Linked DNA regions of Homo sapiens: regions 1 and 2 are each linked to region 3. The links are contacts of gene promoters, found by promoter capture Hi-C in blood cells and fetal thymus (Javierre and others, 2016). All regions are on one chromosome and are shown on one strand. The core of a region is centred on a gene start or on the middle of the fragment in contact, and the rest is flanking DNA. Distances in the headings are between cores, read along the strand shown.

Region 1 (4,044 bases), core at 1,094-3,593, 200 kb after region 3:
ATGGAAGTGCAATTCTTGCCCTCTGAAAACTCAGCTTGGGCATTAGTCCAAGCAAGCTTTCCTTCTCTCTCCTTCCCTCTACCCCTGCCCCCCGGCTCCCCTCTACCCCCTCCCCCACACCACAGCCAATAAGACGGCAAAAAGTGCCTTCTGTACTCTCTGGGCATCTTGTGCTTATCATCTGCCTTTGCTTGTCTTTTGCCCACAACATTGTATTATAGAGAAAATATCTGGTAATTGTGCCCCCACTGGACTGAGGGCTCTGTGAAGGCAGGGAATCTAGCACACTATTTGACATAAGACCAGGCTCATCAGCCTCCTAACTGGTCCTCATGCTTCTACTCTGGGGTTCTCCAGGCTACCCTCCACACAGCTGCCGAATATTCTCCTCCAGATACATCATATCACATCACCTGCCTGATTAAAACCCTCCAAAGGCTCTCCAATGTGTTTGGGGTGAAATCTTCGTTGAGATGGCTTCTTGTCATCCAGGCCTCATTTCCAGTGTTGCTTCCTTGCCTGGCTGCCGGCCCACAAAGCAGTCCTGTTAGCATGTCCCCTTTATTTTCTTTGTGCAACTCATCACCATCTAAAATGATCTGGGCTATCTATTTCTTGACTTGCCTCTTGTCTGACTCTCCCCTAGACGCAGTTTTGTTGACCCAGCACCTATAACAGTGCTCTGCATTTAGTTCTCACTCAATGAGTATTTGCAGACTGAATAGCTGATGAATGTTGGCTTCTTTGCATGGAGCTGTTTCCTACCAGAGGGAATGAACACCTGGAGTAGAATGCGAGGGCGATGCTTGAGGCAGTGCTGGGAGAGTGGGAGGGCCTGGCAGCAAATGAGCCACACCACAGCGGGTTTGGAGGCCTTGCCCCCGGGGGTGGGCTCCTCTCCCTGGACCCTGGTGATATTTGAAGGCAGCTGTCATGGCTCCCTTGCTTACCTTTTCCAGACTTGATTCCCCAAGACCTTCAACAATTTTCCCTTGTGATTGTCTCCTTTCATTATGAGGAGTAGACTCGAAACTGGGACATCTTGTGTTTTGAGGGAGCCATTTCTGGTTAGATATGACCCGTAGTTACTTCACAAAGGTTAGATATGACCCCTAGTTGCTTCCCTGAAAGCACTCAGCCACATAGAACTGCATTTTACCACAGAGGACAGGAGGGCAGAAGGCAGTAAGTGAGAAAAAGCTCAGGGAGAGGATGTAGAAAAGGTAAAGAGAGAAAGAGAGGGGGCAAATCAAGAGGGAAAAGGTTGGGGGAGAGGCAGGGGAGAGGAGGGAGGATCAGACTCCAAGTCAAGGCGGGGGATGCTGAAGGTGCGGGCTGCATGCTGGAATCCTGCTGCCCCTGCCGCCCCTGCTGGTGGCCACCCTCCTCTTCCTCTTCACCTCGGGTCTTGGCAACAAACCCCTTCCTCACTGTACAGTCTGCATGCAGCAATTTTGGGTACGTGGGCAAGAGTGGGAGAACTCATGCAGAAAAGGAAAGCCTAGATGTAGTTGTTTTGAGCCAGCACCAATAGCGGTGCTCTGTGTTTAGTTGGGACTCTGCATTCCGTGGGACACTCAGGATGGAGGCCAGCTGGCTGTCGCTCAGGGGCTCCCTTTCCCTGTCTCCTGTGTCTGGGAGTGGATCTCTGAAGACAGGGGTGATCTAATCATCCAGGGACTGATTGTCGTCTTAGGATAGAGAAACTGTTTCAGGTCAGAGCCCCAAGGGGCAATAGGACTTGAGAAACCAGTTGTTTCAGTCCTGCTGTCACTTTGGTAATTGGAGTGTCAAAATCCATGACACGGGGCTTTCTAAAATATATGTTTTAAGCAACTGCCGGAAGAGGGGGCAGTGCATTGGGGTTGGATTATGGAGCTTACTTCAGGGCAGGGCTGCATCAGGGTTGTGTAAGGTTGGCTCACCGGGCTGGTGAAAGCTGAGATCTTCCTTCCTGGAAAGGTCTTGGCAAACAGCATGAAATGATCTTATTTATCATGTTGCAGTCACACCTCTCCTAATTGAGGTGAAGCTTGGGGTAGTTTGAGGCTCTAGCTTTACTTTTTCTGAGAAGCACCGCTTGGACTCTTAAGTGCTCACCTGGGCTCTTGCAACAGACTCCCCACAGGCCATGTGCCTGGGGTCTCATTCCCACCCCAAACCCATCCCATAAAACACAGATAGAGAAACTTCTATGAAATGCAAATGTGATTATATCATTGCCCTCCCTGAAGCCTTCGGGGCTCTGCCCCTGTTCTGCTGAATGGAGTGTGAGTTCCTTGGCCTGGTACCTATCCTGTTCTCATCTGTCTCTCTTACCTCTCCCTGCCACGCCCCCAGTGCTCCTCATTCGCCCTCAAACCCCACGCCTGCCCATTTCCAGGCCTTTGCATACATGGTCTCCTGAAGCACCTTCATGTTTATCCCGGGATGTCTCCAGGTACCAGCCTTGATGTCACACTGATACTTACCCCTCCATGGAGATGGCCCCAGTGAAGGGCATCATTCCCACCTCAAAGTCCCACCGAGCTACATCCCACCGAAATCTTTTAGCTGGACCTCCCTGGCCTCTCATTTTCCACATCAGATTAATTTGAGGAGCTGTCTTGTCTCCCTGCAGGCCCGAGAACTCTTTGACAACATGGACAAGCTTTATTTATCATGAAGGCCCCTCAGCATTATACTGTGCCTGACACATAGTAAGTCTGCAGTTAATGTCTGTTGAGTGAATGAAGGGACATACAAGTGAGTGGACAAGTGAATTCATTTCTCCCCCAAGTTCTGGAGCCATCCCACCACCACCCAGGCCCCAGACCACATTCAGAGCACTGTGAAGTGTCTGGGAAGAGTTTAGCAGCTTAGACTACTTCTGATCCTTCCTCATTCCTCCCAGGAAGGCATCTAGCAGTTCAGGTTCCACTGCTAACACCAGCCTGGAGGGCAACTCATTGTTGCAGGAATTGTTGGATAGTCATCTGAAGACAGGTTGTCTCTGATTCTTTAGTCACCATGGTGCTGGGAAAGTCCCCAAAGGTCATGTTTCCCCAAAGGACTCATTAATCACAGAGATAGCTACTGATTTCCACTTGGAGTGGGAATCTTAACCTTGACATGGACATGGACATGCTTGCTCTCTCTATCTGAGAAAAGAAGCCCACTCTGCTCTACTCAGCAGAATGAGGTTTTTTTTTTTTTTTTTTTTTTTGAAATGAAAGAGGCTAATGGGAATGAAGAGGTTAAGTCACCTTGATGAGTTCTGTTCAACTACGTTTAAAGAAAATTCCGCAGGGTGCAAGTGGCTTGTTGTCAGACCTTCCCCCAGGGTCTGAAACAATTGCCTACATGCAGACTGAGTTACTAGAGACAAGGTAAATGGAAGAATCCTTGTTACCTGAGGAGGTCTCTGGGTCATCCTGCCACTCAGCTGCTCTGCTCTCTGCCAGCCCCAGGTCTCCAGACAGCTGGCACCCCCAACCCCAGTTCCTGAGAGCCACTCCTACCTCACACCCACATTCGAGCAAAGCACCCATTTCTGCTCTAGAACCATCCTATCTTCACTTTGTGGATGAACAAGTGGATGGTCCATGCTGGGATCTTGAATGTGGGGGAAAATCAGCTATAGTCCCTGCTTTCAGGGGTTCATAGTCTTGGCAAATGAGTATTTGCCATTCAGTATTTGAAGTGCAATGGTGGAATTGTCAGAGTTCTGTGGGCCTGGAGGAGGAAGTCCCTATCTTCTTGAGAAGGGTGGATGGTGAGGAAGCAGTAACACTTGTTCCAAGGCTTGATGGATCCTAAGGGACTTACAAGAGACACCAGGATGGAGCACAGCATTTTTGGTGCAAAGGTGAAGAGGCTGGAGAAAGCCTGGATGTAATTTAGGGAAGGCGTTTTGAAGAAGTGGAGGAATAAACATGTGGATGGGAGGATGGATGATAAGGGGTTAGATTTGTTCTGTGTCCTCAAAGGGGAGGAAAAGTAGGACTAATGCTGGGTGGGCATGAGGAGATGGATTTCAGCTCAGTATAATGAGGGACATTCCAA
Region 2 (3,950 bases), core at 552-3,051, 160 kb after region 3:
GACAGAGAGACAGAGAGAGAGTTCTGCAGCATTCACAAGAGGTTATTAGGACTCAGTTCTGCTGTGAGCCATCCACACTGGAGGATGAGAACACCCAGCTGCAGCCCAGAGCCTGTGGTCCCACTGTTAGGTTTTGAAGGGAAGGCAAGGGTTAAAAAAAGACACAGAGAGAGTTGGTGGCTCTATGGAAATGCAGGTTTTATGTCCAGCACAAGACCTGAGGAGGTGGGGGACAAGCTTAATGCCAGAGCCCCCTGCCGCTTACAGGCTGGGGTAATTTATAGGTCTAGGTGGGGGTCTGGGCAGTATGGCTAGCTCGCCGGGAGGATATTGATAAGATGTTCCTGTGATCAGGCGGTTTGGACCTTTTTCCAGCGGGATGTGATAGGCTGTTTCTTGGACCTTTGCCCCGCAGGATATGATGGGGATGTTCCTTCAGTTGCGCCTTTGCCCAGCAGGGTATGATAAGGATGCTCTTGTGCCTTGCGGTCAGGTGGTTAGGCAGGATGTTTCTCACGGCCTGAATCCACATGGAATGTTTCACTCTGACCAGGGTCCGCAAAATGGCAGGGGGCTTACAAAATGGTGCAGTTTGGACTAACACCCACCATCCTGTCGAATGGGTTTGCTGGGAGGATTTACTGTCAATTCTGTTAGCCTGATAAGGGAGGTTGCTTTCTCGGAGGCCGCATACACAGACAGTGCTAGGAAGTGACCCAAGCGTACCCTGAGAAATGTATCTGTTCAACCAAATTTCAAGTTGGCAATGATCATTCCTCATCTCGCCCAATTTTAAGACGAGGCTGGGCCGTGTAGGTAAAACTGGCAAGCTGGAGAAAGCAGTGCGGGGTGGGGGGGACTCCAGGAAGGCTCCTTGGCCAAGGAGGACTGTAGGATTCTGACTTACACTGTAAGGGCTGTTCCTGTTACAGTTGGCCCCAGTCAGAGGCCCAGGACAAAACTCTGGCCCTGAGTGCAGAGAATTGGTTTTCTGTTTCCCAAGCTTCCACACGGTGGCGCCACCGAGCACCCACCTCGCCCTGGTTGTCGCCGGAGGCAGTACCACGTGGCTGGGTCCTTCGTGGTTCCCGCCCTTCTGTAGGTTGTGAGTCCCACGTCGGGCACCAATCTTGCACCTGTTAAAAAAAGAGATCTTCACCAAAAGCTTCTGAAAGGCAGAGGGCTTTTCTTACTTAATTTGTATTCTTTTCTCTCTCCAATGCTTACCAGAGGACACTGCATAAAATAGTATATTGGGGACACAATTGTTAATCAAGTGGTAGAAACAGGAAGAGATAAAAATAATTAAATTTTTAGTAATGGTGGGTTAAGTAAATCTTGATGCCTATACACATGGAATCCCTGTGATGATACGAAATGGACATTTGGTCTTTGTCCCTGTTCCTGACACCGAGCGTCTGAAATCCTTGGAATCTCCTGAATGACAGGGGAGAGGGAGCATCTTTTGTTATTCATAACAATCCCCTTCCAGTCATGCTGAGTGTGTGCTAATGAGGTGACTCTTGGTGGACCCCTAGATAGCTTCAGGATGGGGCTGGTTGCCAGAGGAAGCAACCATGTGATTAGAGGGCTGGAGCTTTCAGCCCCACACTGGGCCTCCACAGAGCGGCTGGGGAAGGACTTCAATCACCAGTGGCCAATTATTTAATCAACTATGCCTAAATGAAGTGACTGCCATAGAAACCCCAAACGATGGGGTTCAGAGAACTGTAGGGCTGCTGAGCAGGTGGGGTGCCGGAAGGGTGGGCTCCTGGAGTGGGCCTGGGAGCTCCATGCTGCCCCTCATACATGGCCCTGTGTGTCTCTTCCACGTGGCTTTTCCTGAGTTGTACTCTTTGTAATAAACCAGTAATCATGAGTAAAGTGCCTCCCTGAGTCCTGTGAACTCTTGTAGCAGATTATCTAACCTGAGGAGGGGGTTTGTAGGAACCTCCAATTTTAGCCAGTCAGTCAGAAGTATGGGCGGTCAGGTGCTGCGATTGGCATCTGCAGTGGGGGCAGTGTTGTGGGGCTGAGCCTTCACCTTGTGGGGTCTGTGCTAACTCTTGGTAGTTAGGATCAGAACGGAATTGCACGATACCCCGATGGTGTTCAGAGTGTTGGAGAATTGGTTGGTGTGGGGATTTTAAAAAAAGGAAATATAACCCCCACACATTTGGCGTCAAAAGTGTTGTTAGTCAGAATGGTTCTGGAATTCCATATAATGTAGCTATTTGGAATCAATCACTCAAAAATATTTAAGAACTGGGGAGATGTTTTAAACATAGTCCTAATTGAAAAAGCAGATCATAAAACAGCTGGGAAAGGGCAGGGCCGTGGCCCACAGGGTGGACGTGGAGTGGGGGTGGGGAGGGGGTTAATGTGACATGATTGCTCCACATGAGACAAGGCCACGGAACTCAGGAAACAAAGCTTGTTTTGAGCAAGAGTCGTGTCAGATTTCGACAGGAGGTAGAGCAGAGAGAAGATATCTTTACATAGGTGAAGCTAACAGTTCATGATAAAGTGTTCTCAGCCTTCACATTCACAGTCAATTGATTTTCAACAAGCCCGCCAAGCCAATTCAATGGAGAAAGAATAGTCTTTCCAACACATGATGCTGGGACAAGTGGACAGCCACATGCAAAATAATGAAGCTGGACCCCTTCCTTCCTTCATACACACAAATTAACTCAGAATAGGTCACAGCCCTACACATAAGAGCTAAAACTAAAACTCTTAGAAGAAAATATAGAAGTAAATCTTCAAGACTGAGGTCTTGAATATCTTTGCATATGCTACTGAGGCTTTATGACTTTACTTTCCACAGTTAGACCTACAATCCACTTGGAATTGTCATTTTGTCTGCTTGTGTGGTCTAGTTTCATGAGCATGAGCATCCAGTTGATCCAGTAAAATGTATTGAAAAGCTTGTGCTCAGCAGTGCCACTTTTGTCACAGAATAAATATACCATACGTGTGTGTCTTTTTCTCAGACCTCTATTTAGTTCTGTTGATCTATGTGACTGTCCTTGAACCAGCCAGGCAGTATCTTAGTTACCGGAGCTGTTATGATAAATCTTAACATCTAGTACTGTAGATCCTCCCATGTCTTTTCTTTTTCATGATTCCCTTGGCTATTCTTGGCCTGTCTATATACTTTTTACAGTTAACTTGTCAATTTCTACAAAAATTCCAGCAAGGACTTTGGGACTGGGATTGCACTGAATCTATAGGTTACGTTTGGGAGAACTATCAGCTTTACAATAGCATGTAAAGCTGCTATGAACATGGCATATCCCTTACTAAAAACTTTTAGTGGCTTCCCATCCTGCTTAAAGTCCAAATTTTGCAAAGTCCTCGTTGGCTTGTCCTCTGCCTGCCCCTCAGACCTCATCTCCTGTCTTTCTGGGCTCCATTTACACCACTCCAGCCCTTCTTTCTGCCCCTCTGTCAGCCCAGGCTGGCTCCTACCTGAGCACCTCTGTTCCAGCTCTTTCCTCTAACCATGGGGCCCTTCTCCTGCTCTCCCTAAGGTTGGATTTCCTGTTATTCGGGGACAAGGTAATGTAGTGGTTGAGAACAGGTATGTGGGGCCCATGGGCCTGGGTTAGAAATGTGCCTCTGCATTACTAGCTGTGTCCCCAGCATGCTCCTGTAATTGTCATTCCTTGGGCTTTTTCAGCAATTGTTAAGAAGATGAGATGAATGGGTGGATGTAAAGCCCATGGAGCAGTGCTCAGCAAAGAGGAAGAACTTAATACTGTTAATCATCTTCTCACTCTCCAGCAGCCTCCTGGTCCTACAGAAGCAGCCTAGGGACTCCCTATGCTCAAATCCTATTCTTTTTCTCTACACGGCAATAATGTACCCTTTCTTTCTCTTTATCACATTTTCTGTGAGGATTCTAATGCATCTAGCAGCTCCCCCTTCAAGCACAGCCCATCTAA
Region 3 (4,368 bases), core at 1,298-3,797:
TCTCAGGTATATGGCCATTTGATGGGCGCAGTCGCAGCCTCAGTTCCTGAGACAGAGACACCTGATTAAGGACAGGCCTTCAGGAGCTGACCCTAGTGACCCGCGGCTCTGCTGCTGTCTCTGTTTTTCTCCCTGGCTTTTCCATCTGACTGACTCTTTGTCTTCTTCGTCTGCCTGCCTGTCTCCGTCTCTGCCCGCTGGGGGGTTTGCTCAACTCCCTCACTGGGTCCTGGGAGCCGCAGTTTCCTGCTGTCACTCCTCAGGGATTTGTAGCTCTCTGAAGCTCTTTTCCGACCCGTTGTCTCGGTTCCACTCTTGGGATCCAGAGGAGAGGTGATTATTTCGTAGCATAGTCAGTGGTGTGATTTCACGGGGTGAGAAGGACTCCCTTGCTCCTAAGCACTCCTCCAGTGACCCCTGTTGCCATGTGGTAGCCGTAAGCACTGGTTGGCACCTGGTGTGGGCGAGACCCTTACCTCATGCAGAAATGAGTAAGACCGGTGAGCTCACCATGTGGGGGTGAGGCTGAGAGAAAACAAGTACACAGGTGATTCAGTCAAAATCAGAATTCTCTAAGTACACACGAAAAGGGCAAAAGGGGCGCTTTGTACAGGACAGAACAGGTAGACACTGAATCCGGTTGGGCCCTGGGAAGGCTCCCTGCAGTGGCCTTTGAAGGGGGGGTTGGATTTCAGCAGGATAGAGGGCATGGGCATGTGTGGGCACGTTCTGAACAGAGGGGTCAGCGCAAGCCGAGGGTCTTGGCCACACTAGTTGCATGTGCCGGTGTGTTTAAGGGACACGCAGCAGCAGGCCGAGTCTGGAGCGCCTCACTGCCAGGCTTTTTAAAAATTTTTAATTTTAATTTAATTTTATTTTATTTTTACTTTAAGTTCTGGCATACATGTGCAGAATGTGGTTTGTTACATAGGTATACATGTGCCATGGTGGTTTGCTGCACCTATCAACCCATCATCTAGGTTTTAAGCCCCGCATGCATCAGGTATTAGTCCTAATGCTCTCCCTCCCCTTGCCCCCATCCTTCTCCCCGCAACTGCCCACAGGCCCTGGTATGTGGTGTTCCCTTCCCTGTGTCCATATGTTCTCATTGTTCAACTCCCACTTATGAGTGAGAACATACCGCCTGGCTTTAAGGGACAGCCATGGGGATGCACTGCAGTTTCTGAGCAGGGAAGGCCCTGTGGAGGCCCTTAGTTAAAAGGAAAGAATGGCTGTGAAAATCGATGCATTGCGCTCCCTTGTCCCTCACCCTCAGTGTGAAGGGTTTTTATTCCGAGTTCTACTTGAAGTAGGCCTCGATGGGAAGACAAGTAGCATGAGGGGTTCAAGTACTGAGGGGAGCAAGGGACACTCGGTGGCTGTGCCAAGGTGTAGAAGAGGACACTGGGGGCCCCAAGGCCTGACTTCATGTACACTGCTCAGGCTGGCCCCCAAGTCACACGGTGACCGCTAGGAAGGGACCAGCCTGTTCTCAGTCTGATCCTCCTGCCATGTCATTATCCAAAGCTCCTCCTGGCAGGGCCTGTTTGGGGTCTCTGTGCCAGTGCTTTCCCTGCCAGGCTGGGCTGGGGCTTCCACCTACTGCTCTGGGACTGCTGCTGCCCTGGCCCTGGGGGAGGAGGGTGTGCCGCTGAGTCACTGCCTGGGCATCTGGGCCTGGAACCTCGGGTGAGTCACTTAGGGCTGAGGTAGAGGGGCTGGGGGAGGGGAAGAAGCTACTCGACAGCTGGAGCAGGGAGGGGAGCTGGGGCCACAGGAAGGGCGGTGCCCTGATGCCCAGACGGGCCGGGATAGACAAAGGGCCAAGGAGGAAGGGGCCCTGGGAGGGGGCAGCCCTCCCTTGGGCTGGGCTCTGAATGGCCACAGTGTTTGCCTTTCTCCGGGTCTGGGGAGGACATGTGTGTGGGGGGCAGTGAGAGAGGGCTGTGGCTGAGGGCTGTGCTTCAGGCCTGGATTCTGGCTTGGGAAGCTGTCCAGCTGGTGTTTTCAGCCTTGGGTAGGGATGTACCCCTACCCACCCACCCAGCCCTCAAGCTGGAGAAGAGGAGGCCAAAGTTTTCCTGTTCAGCCTTTAACTACTCGGGACTTCCTTATGCTCCCCACAGACTGTGGCCCAGCCCAACTGCGGCTGTGTGTAGAGCAACCCCATTTCTCACTGCTTCCCCATCCTTCCAGACACCTTCCTACACAGAGGGACCTTCCCAGGTATTTCTAAGCACACTTAGTTACCTCATTACCTCATTAAGAGGTATTCTGGTGCTGGCCATTAAAAGTCACTCCACTTCATCCATGCCCTGAAGTCAGTCCTGTCCTTCTCCTCCTGATGTCCCCCAGCTGCCTCCTCTGGCCCCCAGCTTCCTAAGGGTGGCCCCAGGTTGCTTCTCTCTCACACACACGGGCGCATGTATGTACACGAGCACTGGACCATGAAGTCTCAGCGTGTGCTCACAGCCTCTCACACAGGAGTGGGCTGTGACTCACAGGCATGTCATGAGAATGAGGCCTGGCACCAGTCTCCAGGCCCCAGAGCAGGGGTTGCCTCCCCTCACCCCGGTCCAGGATGCCCAGTCCCCACGACACCTCCCACTTCCCACTGTGGCCTGGGTGGGCTCAGGGGCTGCCCTTGACCTGGCCTAGAGCCCTCCCCCAGCTGGTGGTGGAGCTGGCACTCTCTGGGAGGGAGGGGGCTGGGAGGGAATGAGTGGGAATGGCAAGAGGCCAGGGTTTGGTGGGATCAGGTTGAGGCAGGTTTGGTTTCCTTAAAATGCCAAGTTGGGGGCCAGTGGGGCCCACATATAAATCCTCACCCTGGGAGCCTGGCTGCCTTGCTCTCCTTCCTGGGTCTGTCTCTGCCACCTGGTCTGGTGAGTACCTCTGTCCTGCTGAGGGCAGGGTGGGGAGGATCCCCGTGGGTCTCTGTCTTTGTCTCCACAGTTCTCTCATTCCAGCTTCCCTGGTGGGATCAACCTGGGCCTCTCTGGGCCTTCCCCCTTGGAAGAACTCTCTGTGAAGTGCTGAAGTGTTGACTGAAGGGTTTTTTTTTTTTTTTTTTTTTTTTGAGATGGAGTCTCGCTCTGTCGCCCAGGCTGGAGTACAGTGGTGTGATCTCAGCTCACTGCAAACTCCCCCTCCCAGGTTCACGCCATTCTCCTGCCTCAGCCTCCCGAGTAGCTGGGACTGCAGGCGCCCACCACCATGCCCGGCTAATTTTTTTGTATTTTTAGTAGAGATGGGGTTTCACCATGTTAGCCAGGATGGTCTCGATCTCCTGATCTCGTGATCCACCCATCTCGGCCTCCCAAAGTGCTGGGATTACAGGAGTAAGCCACCGCGCCCGGCCGACTGAAGGGTTTTTCTCCAGGTTCCTCTGTGAGGTCTCAGTGCAGGGGTTGCTCTGAGGCCCTCCCCTGGATATCTCAGTCTAGGGGCCCTTCTTTGGGGGTCTAGGCCTAGGAGCAGGAGGTGTGCATGTGGGCGTTGCTGCAAAAAGAATCCTGAGATTTTTTTTTTTTTTTGCAAAGTCCTGGATTCTAGCAGGACTAAGGTGCAAGAGGCAGGGGTCTCAAGACTCTGCCTGGGTCATGGCCCCAAGCAGCAAAGCTCTGCCCCCTGCCTCGGTGAAGGCAGGGCTGGCATGATGGGCCCAGGGCATGCCCTGCCTCTGGCATAGCTCCTCTGGCCTCACCCTGAAACCTGCCTAACCTTTCCAGGCTGGTCTGAGTATTCTCAGAGGCCTTGCCGCTGAGGTCTGTCCCATCCTGATCCCAAGGCAATGAACATTTCATATCTTTAATTCTAATTCCAACAGGATCCTTCCTGGTGGAGAGAATGTTAAGTTGCCCCCACCCTATCCATGCCCCTGTCTGCCTAGAGGCTCAGGGGCCTTCAGGGTGAGGGGAGACACATTCCCCACCCTCTGGGAGCTCCTAGTCTGAGAGAGGAAACACTCCTGCCCAAGGGAGCTTCCAGTTAGATGGCAGAGAGAGATGCCTCTGGCTTCAGGAGTCCCGAGTCTAAGGAGGGAAACGACTCCTTCAGGGAGCTTCCTGCTCCTAGGCTGTAGCCATGGCTCCTGCCAGACTGCACAGGAGCCCCCATCTGCCAGCCGGTGCATGTGGCCCTGCTCCCCAGAGCCTGCGCAGATGCCATCAAAATGGGACTCTGGTCACCCTGTCATTTCCCTTCTGGCAGACACTAAAATGGGGAGCCCTGCCCTCAGGGGGGTGTCCCAAGTGCCATCAGAGGAGGCTTGGTGACTCCCAGACACAAGGGAAGCTTTAGCGTCTGCCCTCAGGGTGAGATGGAGGTATCGCCTCCGGCCTCAGGGAACCACAGTCTGAGGGGGAG

What was found. Contacts are between HindIII fragments. The CHiCAGO score rates a contact against its expected background, and 5 or more counts as called.
Region 1: a contact is called between a fragment that was not itself captured here and the fragment with the promoter of S100A2 in region 3, in 1 of 17 cell types (M1 macrophages). The highest score is 5.2, in M1 macrophages.
Region 2: a contact is called between a fragment that was not itself captured here and the fragment with the promoter of S100A2 in region 3, in 1 of 17 cell types (neutrophils). The highest score is 5.5, in neutrophils.

What each region holds. Positions count from the first base shown.
Region 1 is chr1:153,363,264-153,367,307 of GRCh38, reverse strand. No RefSeq gene overlaps it. Among named protein-coding and RNA genes, the nearest start is that of S100A9, 7.4 kb to the right of the region's middle. The HindIII fragment of the contact is 618 bases long and covers 2,035-2,652 here.
Region 2 is chr1:153,401,992-153,405,941 of GRCh38, reverse strand. It overlaps a transcript of S100A8 not described here. Among named protein-coding and RNA genes, the nearest start is that of S100A7A, 13 kb to the left of the region's middle. The HindIII fragment of the contact is 1,268 bases long and covers 1,168-2,435 here.
Region 3 is chr1:153,564,023-153,568,390 of GRCh38, reverse strand. It overlaps S100A2 (S100 calcium binding protein A2), which reads left to right and starts at 2,547. Exons shown (of 3, transcript NM_005978.4): 1 at 2,547-2,885. RefSeq lists enhancers at 1,386-1,625, 1,323-2,522, 2,496-2,555, 2,675-3,432, 3,433-4,190 and 1 more. The HindIII fragment of the contact is 6,475 bases long and covers 1-4,298 here.